2 separate regions of the Homo sapiens genome follow, and region 2 is linked to region 1. Evidence: promoter capture Hi-C in human tissues and cell types (Jung and others, 2019). All regions are on one chromosome and are shown on one strand. The core of a region is centred on a gene start or on the middle of the fragment in contact, and the rest is flanking DNA. Distances in the headings are between cores, read along the strand shown.

The links. The method cuts DNA at HindIII sites, captures the fragments that hold promoters and counts their contacts. A contact is called where the count stands out against the background at its distance.
Region 2: a contact is called between a fragment that was not itself captured here and the fragment with the promoter of TLCD1 in region 1, in 5 of the 25 tissues and cell types used here (aorta, hippocampus, mesenchymal stem cells and 2 more).

What each region holds. Positions count from the first base shown.
Region 1 is chr17:28,724,813-28,731,651 of GRCh38, forward strand. It overlaps TLCD1 (TLC domain containing 1), which reads right to left and starts at 1,421. Exons shown (of 4, transcript NM_138463.4): 1 at 1,092-1,421; 2 at 669-751; 3 at 492-574; 4 at 1-81. The coding sequence starts at 1,285. It overlaps NEK8 (NIMA related kinase 8), which reads left to right and starts at 3,976. Exons shown (of 15, transcript NM_178170.3): 1 at 3,976-4,048. The coding sequence starts at 4,002. RefSeq lists enhancers at 233-956, 320-619, 740-789, 957-1,680, 1,681-2,404 and 3 more and a silencer at 1,200-1,729. The HindIII fragment of the contact is 6,466 bases long and covers 1-3,938 here.
Region 2 is chr17:28,783,769-28,790,600 of GRCh38, forward strand. The region is part of intron 1 of FAM222B (family with sequence similarity 222 member B); the gene reads right to left. Among named protein-coding and RNA genes, the nearest start is that of TRAF4, 43 kb to the left of the region's middle. The HindIII fragment of the contact is 3,691 bases long and covers 3,198-6,832 here.

The DNA.
Region 1 (6,839 bases), core at 171-2,670:
GCTGACTTCCACCAGTAGTGTTAAGACACCCCCACCGACAAAGCTGCTCCAAAAGATGCCGGAGAAGAAGGCACCCATGGCCTAGAGGGAAGAAAGAATAGGAGTTAGGGAACCCAGATGCAGACGCTTTCCTGGAAGTTTGGGGGGTGTGGCTATCAGATTGAGGGCTGGAAAATCCCAAATTTCCCCCTGGAATAATAGTTTATAGTGGGTAAGATGCTTTGTTTTGTTAGTTCAACATTACTAGATTTTGATTGCTGCTCACAGCTGGCTGTGGGTGATGTTCAGTCTAAAGAGGCAGTGAAACCATGGGTTGCTGGCCTCAGTGAACAAGTACAGACTGCCAACCTCCAGCATCCTAGCATAAGAAGTAGCACACAGGTCGGGGGTGGGTGGTAAGAAAACACGGCCTTCTCCCAGATTCAGAAAGACGGAGCTGAGACTAGATTACTGACACCAGGCCTATACCACATAGTCTGCTTCTCTCTTACCATGACGTGATGGACAAGGTATTCCCAAGAGGCTCGCGTCTGTCCGCTAGCCACGATGTCCACCGTATCGTGGATGAAATACCCTAGTGGAGGGATGGGGCAAGAGATCATGAACTGAACAAGCAGCTTCCTTCTCCCTGTCCCCAATTTGCCTCCCGCTTCCTGGGCAAGACCTACCCGCAGAGAAGCAAACGAGCAAATAGCCAGAAAGTGACCACGCCGTCTCAATCTCCACTAACATGTCAGGAGTCTGCCATACACTGGAAAGGAGGGAAGAGGAGGCTCTGCATTTCGGCACCCTCAAGGACCATCAACTTCTCGGTTACCCTTCGCAGCCCCGGGGGATCCTGGGCTCGCGCTAGTGGCTGACTGGGAAGCTAAGAGTGGCTGGGCAAAACCCAAGAGCCTCCAGTTTCCCAGGGGCGATCCCCCTCCCCTGGGGCCACTGCGGCTTTTGGTTGGATAGGATACCAAACGGGATCAGGTGAGACTGCGTGGCCTCAGCCCGCCAGTGAGCGATGGGGGTAGTAACACAAGAGCCGGCCCCGGCTCCCCGCTCAGGATCCCCTGGCCACCTCATTTCCACAGTCGCTCACTCACCACAGCAGTGCCCAGATCCCCGACACAATGGAGTGAGCGAAGGAGACGAGCAGGTTGTGCCAGCGCCAGGTGCGCAGGGGGTCGGCGCGCACGTGCACGGGTAGGGGCAGGCGACAGAGCGCGCGCCGGAGCGCCCGGAAGGTCAGCGTGGCGCCCAGGAGCAGCGGCAGGGCGGGGTGCAGCAGTCGGGGCATGCTGGCCCTCCCTGCCGTCCGCCCTCGAGGCCGCCTCCTAGGTCTGTTCTGGGAACCGGGATCCCTCTCGGGCCAGTCCAGGCCGGCCGCCTCTCCCGCCGGCCGCCAGCCCCACACAGTTGGCGAAGCCCTCTAGGCCCCTTGGCTCCTCCTCGCCCTCCCTGCGAGGCCTCTGCCCCCGCCCCCAGCCGCCCGCGCCCCCGCCCCGCCCGCCTGCCCCCGCCCCGTCCGCCTGCCCCCGCCCCTCAGGCGCTGCTGCCGCGCGAGCCGGGTGTCCCCGTGGCCTCTCGGCCACCGGCCGGCTCCCGCGGACTTCGGGTAACTAGGAGCTGTGCTGGGGGCGTCGTCGCCGAGACACCCCTCGCTGGCGCCTCCCGACTGCCGACGGAGTCCCCGCTGCCCTCGCTCGCCTGGCCTCATTAACCCGCGTCCCCACTTTTCCCCGGGCCACCGGCTACCCCGCCCTGGGCGGGTACCGCGAGAGCTCTCTCCGCCCTCTACTTTCTGCGCAGAGCTGGACGGGACCCGACACGCCCACGCCCCCTAAGTCCTGGTCCTGGGGTGGGCTCCGGAGCCCCGCGTCCGACAGTGGTCTCCGTGCAGACCCAGTGCCCCTACCGCACCACTCGCAGTCTTCTGGCCGGAGTCCCGTGTTTACCTGTCCCTCCCGCGCCCGCGAGGTGGGCACTTGGGAACTGCTGAGTAACCCATCGCCACCTCTTCCCGCCGGCTCTTAAACTCCTGGGGCCGGGCGGCTGTCACAGTCCTCCCTCAGACAGTCCCGGCCCTCGGCCCGGCTCCCCGGAGGCTGGGCAAGCAAGACCTCCGATTTGCCGGGACAGCTGGAGTGACCCGCGCTCTCCAAGCCGGTAGCTTGCAGCAGTTGCGGCTCCTAGCCACTAGGTGTCAGCCTGCCCTCACTGTGGCGCGGGCTCCCCCTCCCGCCTCCGAGCGAGGCAGCTGCTTTCGGGGAGAGTTTAGGTATAAACTCTGGGCGAAAGGAGGAGCAGCTGAGAGCCAGCGAGGGAAGTTAAGCGGAGATGAGAGCGGGGAGGGAGAAGAGGGTAGTAATAGAGGAGGGGCGGGAAGAAGCGGGGGAGGGGAAAGGTGCTGCGGGCGGGAGGAAGAAGCCGAGAAAACCTGAGGCGCAAGGACCCAGGGACCAAGCCGTTTGAGTGTTTTCCTCCCCTATGGCTCCAAGGTTACACATTAACCCCTGTGGGACTCTTAAGTCAACCAAAGCCCAGTCGGTTTCTAGGTGAGAACACGGGTGTCCTGGGTGAGCGGCTTTCCCGCCCCTCCCCTTGGCTCACAGAGCTGCTCTGTCCGCCGGCCGACACCGGCCTGAGCCAGCGCCCTTCCAGCAGTCATTCCACGTGGGTGGGTTTGGATACCCTTGCGAGAGCCAGGACAGGGGCAGAAGATAAAACGCCCCTTTCCTCACACCCCTTGCCCACTCTGATACAGGGACGCTAACCTTCAGCTAGTGACCATCCTCCTCCTGAATACTGATGTTTTCTTTCTTTCTTTTTTTTTTTTTGAGATGGAGGCTCACTCTATCGCCCAGGCTGGAGTGCAATGGCACGATCTCGGCTCACTGCAACCTCCGCCTCCCAGATTCAAGCGATTCTCCTGCCTCAGCCTCCCGAGTAGCTGGGATTACAAGCGCGCGCCACCGTGCCCAACTAATTTTTGTATTTTTAGTAGAGACGAGGTTTTACCATGTTGGCCAGGTTGGTCTCAAACTCCTGACCTCAGGTGATCCGCCCGCCTCGGCCTCCCCAAAGTGCTGGAATTACAGGCGTGAGCCACCGCGCCTGGCCGAATACTGAGTTTTTCTAGAGCTCCCGCAGAGCAGGAGCCCGGGAGAACCTGGAATTAACCTCACTTCCGGTAAAGAGCCTAGCTGGTCACACTAACCAGCCCCCTGCCTCTAGGCTTTTGCCTTGAGCTCATTTCGGCGAAACCGCGGTCTTTCCTTCTCCCCTTGATGCTTTCAGGTACTGACCCACTACCGCCCCCATCTTCCCCCATGGGAAGATGAGCACTGAGGGCAGATTACCCTCCTGCAGCGCGTGTGTGAAAGGGGAGTTGAGAGTGCTGACGAGCGCGGCGCTCACTAGTCGGGACGGCCCGAGACCGTGTCATGTCCTCTTCAGGTGAATCAACTTGCACGACTTGGGATTTCCCCCGTCCCTCCCCAGGCAAACACGAAACCAACCCTGCTGCCTTCTCCCAGGAGCGCTGGTCTCGGTCGTTTTGGGTGTGTTTATCGTTTGCGTGCCAAGGAGAACCCGCTTTCTCCTGAAATAGCGTCACTCGTGGGCAAGAAGGGGGTCAATCTTCTCTTCCCACCCCTTCCCGGCCTGTGGGGTTTAACTCTCGGGAACGCGACATCCTTTTAGTCTAGCAAGCTTTACAAGGGCTGGGTATATGTGTGGGAGGGGCGGGTACCGTGCCCGCCATTGCGGGCGCGCCCTATTTTCTTGCCCTATTCTTGGACACTGCGTGGGGCAGGGTCGTGAGGGGAAAAGTGACGGCGTGTCGCAGCGGGAGGTGTGTGGTGCAGGCCCACAAATACGGACGCGTGGCGGAACCCACACCTAGGGCGCTGGCTCCGCCCCGCAAGCCGCTCGCCGTGAAGGGGCGGGGCCCAGAGTGGGTGGGTCCGCGCACGCGCCGCGTGGGGGACGGAAGTGAAACTCTAAGAAATGAGATGGAGAAGTACGAGCGGATCCGAGTGGTGGGGAGAGGTGCCTTCGGGTGAGCCAGGGCTCTGGGGGAGGAAACTGCTAGGGGATAGGGAAAATAAGCCCCAATTCCGCCCGCGAAGTCGCCGCCCGCCTAATCCCGCCCCAAGGCGTGAGCGCCACTCTGGGAAGCCCCGCCCAAGCTTCCGGTCCCAGTCCCCCGGGGAGACTCCGCCTCTACGGAGGCCACGCCCCTGACAGGCCCATTGCTCCGCCCACTGAGTTATGTTAGCTTCTTTATTCATTCGTTCAACAAATACTGAGTGCCAGCTATGTATGTCAGGCTTTGGCCGCTGGGTATATAGTTAGAACCGGAACGGGCGTGGTCTTTTCCCTCTTGGAACTTACTGACTGTGGGAAAGTTATACAATAAACAAAACATTATGAAGTAAGAAGTTATAGCAGTTATGAAGTGTTATTAGCAGGTTGTGAGGATAGAGTACATTACCAGTGAGAATACTTATATGAGATGGTCAAGGAAGAATTCTCTGAGAAGGGAGATTGCTTGCTTGCTTGATTGATTTTTAAGACAGAGTCTCCCTCTGTCACCCCGGCTGGAGTTCAGTGGCACGATCTTGGCACACTGCAACCACCACCTCCTGGGTTCAAGCAATCGTTGTGCCTCAGCCTCCCGAGTAGCTAGGATTACAGGCGTGCGCCACCATGCCCGGCTAAATTTTTTGGATTTTTTTTTTTTTTTTTTTTTTTTGAGGCAGTCTCACTCTGTCGCAGTGGCGCGATCTCGAGTGCAGTGGCACTATCTCAGCTCACTGCAACCTCTGCCTCCCTGGTTCAAGCGCTTCTCCTGCCTCAGCCTCCCGAGTAGCTGGGACTACAGGCACGCGCCACCATGCCCAGCTAATATTTTTTGTGTTTTTAGTACAGATGGGGTTTCGCCATGTTGGCCAGGCTGGTCTCAAATTCCTGACCTCAGGTGATCCGCCCGCGCCGGCCTCCCTAAGTGCTGGAATTACAGGCGTGAGCCACCGCGACAGGCCAGAAGTGAGATTTAAGGCCAAGACTTGAGGAATGAGGACCAGTAGTCTGCAGGTGAAGGGAGAACTTTTCAGGCAAAGGAAATAGCGTATGTGAAATGTCTCACATGGGAAAACAGAGCATTCAAGAAACCGAGAAAGACTAGTAATAGTTGGAATGTAGTGGGCAAGGTAGAGAATGGTATAAAATGTAATTGTCGAGGGCGGGGACTAGATTATGGCCTGATAACCTGAGATAAAAGGTTCATTTGCCACAAACGGTTTTGTTTTGTTTTTGTTTTTGTTTTTGAGACGGAGTCTTGCACTGTCGCTCAGGCTGGAGTGTAGTGGCAATCTCAGTTCACTGCAATCTCCGCCTCCCGGGTTCACGCAATTCTCCTGCCTCAGCATCCTGAGTAGCTGGGACTACAGGCACACGCCACAACAACCGGCTAATTTTTTTTTTTTTTTTTTTTTTTTTTTTGTGAGACAGAGTCTCCTCTGTTGCCCAGGCTGGAGTGCAATGGCACCATCTTGGCTTACTGCAAGCCCCGCCTCCCGGGTTCAAGCAATTCTCCTGCCTCAGCCTTACAGGCGTGTGCCACCATGCCTGGCTAATTTTTTGTATTTTTAGTAGAGACAGGGTTTCACCATGTTGGCCAGCCTGGTCTCGAACTCCTGACCTCAGGCGATCCACCTGCTTCTGCCTCCCAAAGTGTTGGGATTACAGGCGTGAGCCACCACTCCCAGCCACCAGGAAGGGTTTTAAAGAGGAAGAGTGATCCTGAGACTTGGCAGAGTTTTCTGAAAAGGGGCAGGGTGCAGTGGCTCACGCCTATAATCCTAGCACTTTGGGAGGCCGAGATGGGCAATTGCTTGAGCTTAGGAGTTAGAGACCAGCCTGGGCAACACAATGAGTCCCCCTGTCTACAAAAAAATAAAAAAATTAGCCAGGTATGGTGGCATTGGCATGTGCCTGTAGTCCCAACTACTCAGGAGGCTGAGGTGGGAGGATCACTTGAGCATGGGAGGTGGAGGCTGTAGTAAGCTGAGATGAGACCCCTGCACTTCAACTTGGTTGACAGAGTGAGAACCTATCTAAAAAAAGAAATAATACAAGAAAAAAAGAAAGAAAGGAAAGAAAGAAGGGGCCGGGCACGGTGGCTCAGGCCTGTAATTCTAGCACTTTGGGAGGCCGAGGTGGTTGGATCACCTGAGGTCAAGAGTTCGAGACCAGCCTGGCCAACACAGTGAAACCCCATCTCTACTAAAAATACAAAATTTAGCTGGGTGTTGTGACGGCTACTTGGGAGGCTGAGTCAGGAGAATCGCTTGAACCTGGAAGGCAGAGGTTGCAGTGAGCTGAGACTGTGCCATTGCACTACAGCCTAGGCAACAAGAGTGAAACTCTGTCTCAAAAAAAAATAAAAACAAAAAGGCCGGGCGTGGGGGTCATGCCTGTAATCCCAGCACTTTGGGAGGCCGAGGCGGGCAGGTCACGAGGTCAAGAGATCGAGACCATCCCGGCCAACATGGTAAAACCCCGTCTCTACTAAAAATAAAAAAATTAGCTGGGCGTGGGTGGCACGCGCCTGTAGTCCCAGCTACTCGGGAGGCTGAGGGAGGAGAATTGCTTGAACCTGGGAGGCGGAGGATGTAGTGAGCCGAGATCGCGCCGCTCCACTCCCGCCTGGCAACAGAGTGAGACTCCTTCTCAAAAATAAAAAAAATAGAAAAATAAAAAATCTTATCAGACCATTCCTCTATATTTTGTCTTTCTTTCTTTCTTTTTTTTTTTCTGAGACAGAGTCTCGCTCTGTCACCCAGACT
Region 2 (6,832 bases), core at 3,793-6,292, 63 kb after region 1:
CCAAACTGCTAGGATTATAGGTATGAGCCACTGCGCCCAGACTTTTTTGAGGCTGAGTCTCACTCTCTTGCCCTGGCTGTAGTGCAGTGGCACAATCTCGGCTCACTGCAACCTCTTCCTCCTGGGTTCAAGCGATTCTCCTGCCTCAGGCTCCCAAGTAGCTGGGGTTACAGGCTCCTGCCACCACGCCTGGTTAATTTTTTGTATTTTTAGTAGAGATGGGGTTTCACCATGTTGGCCAGGCTGGTCTCGAACTCTTAACCTCAGGTGATCCACCCGCCTCGGCCTCCCAAAGTGCTAGGATTACAGGTGTGAGCCACCACCACACCTGGCCGAGATTATTTTGAAGATTAAATTTGGGTTTAACATATTCCAGTGCTTAGGTGCCTGATACACAGTAAACATTATTTACATGTTGGCTCTTGTGGGGCACAGTGGCTCACATCTGTAATCCCAGCTACTCAGGAGGCTGAGGTAGGAAGACTGCTTGAGGCCAGGAATTTAAGACCAGCATGGGCAACGCAGTAAAATTCCAACTCTTTAAAAACTTTTAAAAAATTAGCCAAGTGTGGTGGCATAAACTTATAGTCCCAACGACTTAGGAGGCTGAGAGGACAGAATTGCTGGAGCTCAGGAGCCTGAGCTTGCAGTGTGCCATAGTGACACCTGTGAATATCCACTGTACTCCAGCCTGGGCAACAACAGAGTAAGATCCCCTCTCTTAAAAAAAAAAAAAAAAAAAAAAAAAAAAAAAAAAAAAAAAGGCAATAATCATTACTATTACTTTTCACTGGGCGCGGTGGCTCACGCCTGTAATCCCAGCACTCTGGGAGGCTGAGGTGGGCGGATCAGGAGATCGAGACCATCCTGGCTAACACAATGAAACCCCGTCTCTACTAAAAATACAAAAAATTAGCTGGGCGTGGTGGCAGGGACCTGTAATCAAAGCTACTCAGGAGGCTGAGGCAGGAGAATTGCTTGAACCCAGGAGATGGAGGTTGCAGTGAGCTGCTCTGTCACCCAGGCTTCAATATCCAATGGCGTGAAACACGGCTCATTGAAGCCTCAACCTCCCGGGCTCAAGTGATCCTCCCACCTCAGCCTTCTGAGTAGGTGGGACTACAGGTGTGAGCCACCATGCCCAGCTATTTTTTTTTTTTTCCTTTATGTAGAGATGGGGTCTCACTATGTTTCCCAGGCTGGTCTTAAACTCCTGGACTCAAATGATTCTCCCACCTCAGTCTCCCAAAGTGCTGGGTTTATAGGTATGAGCCACTGTGCCCAGCCTTAATTTGAAATTTAAAACAATCCTAATCTAGATGGAACAAGTATTATTCTCTTTCTACAGATAAGGAAACCCAGGCTCAGAAAGATTAAGTAACTTGTTCTGTGATATAAAGCTGGGTCAGTGGATCTGGTATTGAATCTCTGTCTTAGTTCCTAGACATGTGATCATTCCATTAAATATTTTCCAATCTGCAGGCTGTGACCAGCCTTTTAAAAGTGTTGAATTTAAAATGCCACAAAATAATAGTAAGCATACTTATTTTTTCATGACTGTTATCTATATTCTATGTGTGTGTTTACTGAGATGCAATCTTTATCGTGGGCATAGATAAAATGTCTGAAAAACATTGAACGGTTCCATAGCTGCCTCTCTAGTCAATGTTTAACAAGCACATATTATATCCCTCTGATTACACTATTATATACGACAAAAACACACAATTCTAAGCCGTGGTTTTGATGATGATGATGATGAGGATGAGGATGATATTATTTTTGAGACAGAGTTTCGCTCTTGTTGCCCAGGCTGGAGTGCAATGGCACGATTTCAGCTCACTGCAACCTCCGCCTCCCAGGTTCAAGCAATTCTCCTGCCTCAGCCTCCCAAGTAGCTGAGATTACAGGCATGTGCCACCATGCCCGGCTATTTTTTTTTTTTTTTTGAGACAAAGTTTCACTCTTGTAGCCTAGGCTGGAGTGCAATGACGCAATCTCGCAATCTCAGCTTACTGCAACTCCATCTCCCAGGTTCAAACGATTCTCCTGCCTCAGCCTCCCGAGTAGCTGGGACTACAGGTGCCTGCCACCATGCCCTGCTAATTTTTTTGTATTTTTAGTAGAGACGGGGTTTCACCATGTTAGCCAGGATGGTCTCGATCTCCTCTCCGCCTGCCTTGGCCTCCCAAAGTGCTGGGATTACAGGTGTGAGGCACCACACCCAGCTAATTTTTGTATTTTTAGTAGAGACGGGGTTTCACCTTGTTGGCCAGGATGGTCTCGATCTCCTCACCTCGTGATCTATCCACCTCGGCCTCCCAAAGTGCTGGGATTACAGGTGTGAGCCACCACACCCGGCCATAGGTTTTGTTTTTTTTTTTAAGTGTGCATGTAATTACTGACTTCCTAATGAATTGGAGGAATCACCTCTCCTAGGCCAACACTTTGCAATGTAACTCATTCTTATGCTTTGGCTAGCCTAACACTTTGAAATCAATTCATAGTGAAAATCCTTTCAAAGTGAAGGATAAGACAGCAACTATAAGCAAGGTAAATCCGCTGGGAAAATGACTATACATAGGCAAAGGAAAGCTTGAAGTGGTCAGACTTTTATTCCCCCAGGGGAGAGCTGTATTATTCACACAGAGTAAACTGTATCAAAACACAATACAACTAATGATGGAATAGTTACCTCTCATTCTCAAGCAATCCTAGCACAGAAAACCCTTCCCCTTGTATCCTCATTCTCTCCCTGAATGTAAGAAGTAAACCCTGACTTTAAGCCTACTCTCAACTCATACCTTTCCTAAGTCAGTTTTCATTTGGACACTTGTGCTGTGACATCTTTTGGAAGCTGGGCATCATACAGCCCGCCCAGGTCTCTAGCAGGAAGCATCTCCCTGCTCCCTATATTATTTTGAATTTTCTGGGAAAAAGGATTTCACATGTGTACTTGGCCATGTACCCACTATGTATCCATTTGGTCTGACAACTTCTTAGAACTAGTTCTCTGTGCACAACGCCTTGCCATACATTGCTAGTGAAGAGTTTCAGAAAGGACAGTAAATTCAGGGCAGGGAGAATGAAGTTTTACTTATAGCTAACACACTGCCCTTCACTGTATTTTTTTTTTTTTTTTTTTTTTTTTTTTGAGACAGAGTCTCGCTCTGTCGCCCAGCCTGGAGTGCAGTGGCGCGATCTCGAGTGCAGTGGTGCGATCTCCGCTCACGGCAACCTCCACCTCCTGGGTTCACGCCATTCTCCTGCCTCAGCCTCCTGAGTAGTTGAGACTACAGGCGCCCGCAACCACGCCCAGCTAATTTTTTTGTATTTTTAGTAGAGACGGGGTTTCACCATGTTAGCCAGGATGGTATGATCTCCTGACCTCGTGATCCACCCTCCTCGGCCTCCCAAAGTGCTGGGATTACAGGCGTGAGCCACCATGCCCAGCCCCCACTGTATCTTCTATTCTTCTGTTATCTAGGGCTAGTTTCCCAATCTTGCCAAGGCAGATTATAAGGTAATACAGAAAGACAAGTTTGATACATTAATGCATTCTATTCCCTTTAGGCCCTTCCTTCTCCTCCCCCAGCCTGAGTATGGACCATGAGGAATCCTGATATGTAATAACCTTTGTCAAAGGCTTCTATATAGCCTTAGTGAAAATCAAAGCACTTACATTGCTTGTCACTGAGACTCACTATAACTTGAAGATTTATGGTTCACGCTCCACATGTCCAAGGAATTAGCAGGTTTCTGAAGCTAAAGGGTCTCTGAAAGCTCAAGAGGCTGCTAAGCTTAAAGGGGCCCGAGAATTGAAAGCTTAAAGGAAGAGGTGGAGCACCCCCTTCCACACCTGGCAGACCACAACTAGCTAATGAAATTTGCAATGCTGGGTCAATCTACAGGAAGGAAAAACAGATATACAGTCCCTGTTAGAATAATACTTTCATAGCTAGGGTAAACACACAGATAAAGATTCTGAAATTCACTTTAGGAAGCTTCCTCATTTCAGGAACTGTCTGCAAAACAAATAAAAAACTAATAAAGTAGTCTTTTTTTTTTTTTTTTTGAGACGGAGTTTCGCTCTTGTTGCAGGCTGGAGTGCAATGGCACGATCTTGGCTCACCGCAACCTCCACCTCCTGGGTTCAAGCAATTCTCCTGCCTCAGCCTCCCGAGTGGCTAGGATTACAGGAATGTGCCACCACACCCAGCTAATTTTGAATTTTTAGTAGAGATGGGGTTTCTCCATGTTGGTCAGGCTAGTTTTGAACTCCCAACCTCAGGTGATCCGCCCGCCTCGGCCTCCCAAAGTGCTGGGATTACAGGCGTGAGCCACCGCACCCAGCCTAAAGCAGTCCTTTAAACCTCTAAAGTGTTGAAAGTACCACAACTCACTCAATGATCAGCAGAATTATTTGGCTCCCTTCTGTGGACCTGAGAAATTCAAAAGTCATTCAGAATTGCTTTTTTGTTTGTTTTTGACACAAGGTCTCACCCTGTCATCCAGGCTGGAGTATGGTGGTGCAATCATAGCTCACTGCAACCTTGAACTTCTAGGCTTAACGGATCTTCTTGCCTCAGCTTCCTGAGTAGCTGGGATTATAGGTGCACACCATTGCATGTGGCTAATTTTTTTGTTTTTTATAGAGACAGGTTTTTGCCATGTTGCCCAGGCTGGTCTGGAACTCATGAGCTCAGGCAATCTGCCTGCCTCGGCCTCCCAAAGTGCTGGGATTACAGGCATGAGCCACCGCGTCCGGCCTCAGTATTGTTATTTATCAAAGTGTGTGACTGCTTCTAACCTGTCAAATATGCATCTTATACTACATATTAAGTCCCACCAAACAAGTCATTTAAGTCAACATTATTTTAGCATTGAGTTAATCGGGGAGGAAAAATCCAATAAATATACATGTAACTCTAAAGATGCCCAAATAATTGTAATTTGCCCTCCCTTTTAAAATTAATTTACTTTTGTTTTTTGAGTCAGAGTCTCACTCTGTCATCCAGGCTGGAGCGCAGTGATGCAATATTGGCTTACTATAACCACTGCCTCCCAGGTTCAAACAATTCTCCTGCCTCAGCCTCCCGAGTAGCTGGGATTACAGATGCCCGCCACCACACCCACCTAATTTTTGTATTTTTAGTTTAGTAGAGATGGGGTTTCACCATGTTAGCCAGGCTGGTCTTGAACTCCTGATTTCAGGTGATCTGCCTGCCTGCCTCGGCCTCCCAAAGTGCTGGGATTACAGATGTAAGCCACAGCGCCCGGCCTTGCCTTTCTTTTATCTCAAAGATACCTCAAAAAAAAAAAAAAAAAAAAAAAACTAACACCCCCCCGACAAGTAATCTTATGGATAGTGGTAGAAAACAAAAGTTCAAAATTCTTCTATTACTGGTACACATCTTCTTCATTCTGTGTCCTTTTTTTTTTTTTTGAGATGGAGTCTCGCTCTGTTACGCAGGCTGGAGTGTGCAGTGGCGGAATCTCAGCTCATTGCAACCTCTACCTCCTGGGTTCAAGCAACTCTCTGTCTCAGCCTCATGAGTAGCTGGGATTACAGGCACCCACCACCATGCACAGCTAATTTTTTGTATTCTTAGTACACACGGGGTTTCACCATCTTAGCCAGGCTGGTCTTGAACTCCTGAACGATCCACCTGCCTCGGCCCCCCAAATTCCTGGGGTTACAGGCGTGAGCCACTGTGCCTGGCCCACTGTCCTCTTTAATTTCTTCTCTCTTTGGGACCTCCCTTACCAACTCAGTGTCCTTATCAACTTTTACCCAGTTCTATTAAGTCACTTCAATTGAATTAGAAATGGAAGCTACCCAAACAGAATGAGAAGAGTACTGGATGCAGTGATCACTCCCACCCAATTGCAATGAGCCCCAACAGGGCCTACTCTTGGTTTCTAAATACTGCATTTTCCATTGAAAGGAACCAAGGCTCCTTGGAGAATTGACTGAGGCAGAGAAAGTACTAGATGAGTCTAATATATCTTATTGTGCAGGAAAGGAAGTGCTCAAAGAATAACAGTGAAATATCAAAGGACAAAGAAGGCACAAGATGCTTAGTTGGTGAGGGAAACCCCAGAGACAGAAGTTTACACAGTAGAAATTAGAGAAGACATTGAGTGGGTACACTGGGTAAAGCAGGCATGTTACCAGAATACAACAGTTGTGAATTTTTCTTTTCTACCATTGCCTGTAAGGTGTTAGTTTGGGGAGTATTTATCTGTCAACCTATTGAAATAAAAGAATGGCAGATTATTTGGGCATTTTTATGATTAAACATATATTTATATAATTTTTTTTCTTGATTTACTGGCCAAATCGGGAATAATCTGAGCATCAAAATAAATAATAAAAGATGATATTTCATTGAATAAAACAAGAAATCATTAGTTCATACTAATGTAAACAAATACATTGGAAGGCTGAAAAGGAATGCAATATTTGTATAGTTTCTAAGCCCTGTCTCCTAAAAATACTAATTACAAAGGGAAAATGAGTAACTTTACTTAGGAAAAGCCTAGCAAACACCACCTTAATCAAGTGATCAAACATTATCAGTAACGATACAAATCAAAATTCTGTACCTTTTGAAATCATGCAGTGAAGAACACAGCATCACTCCTGTGATATTCCTGTTGAAGATATGTTACCTAAATTAAACACAAGGAACCACCAGACAAGTCCAAATTGAGGGACTTTCTACAAAATAACTTAATAGCATCAAGGTTATGAACATCAAAGAAGGCCTGAAGAAACTGTTCCAGACTGGAGGAGACTAAGACAACATGAAAAATAAATGCAATGTGT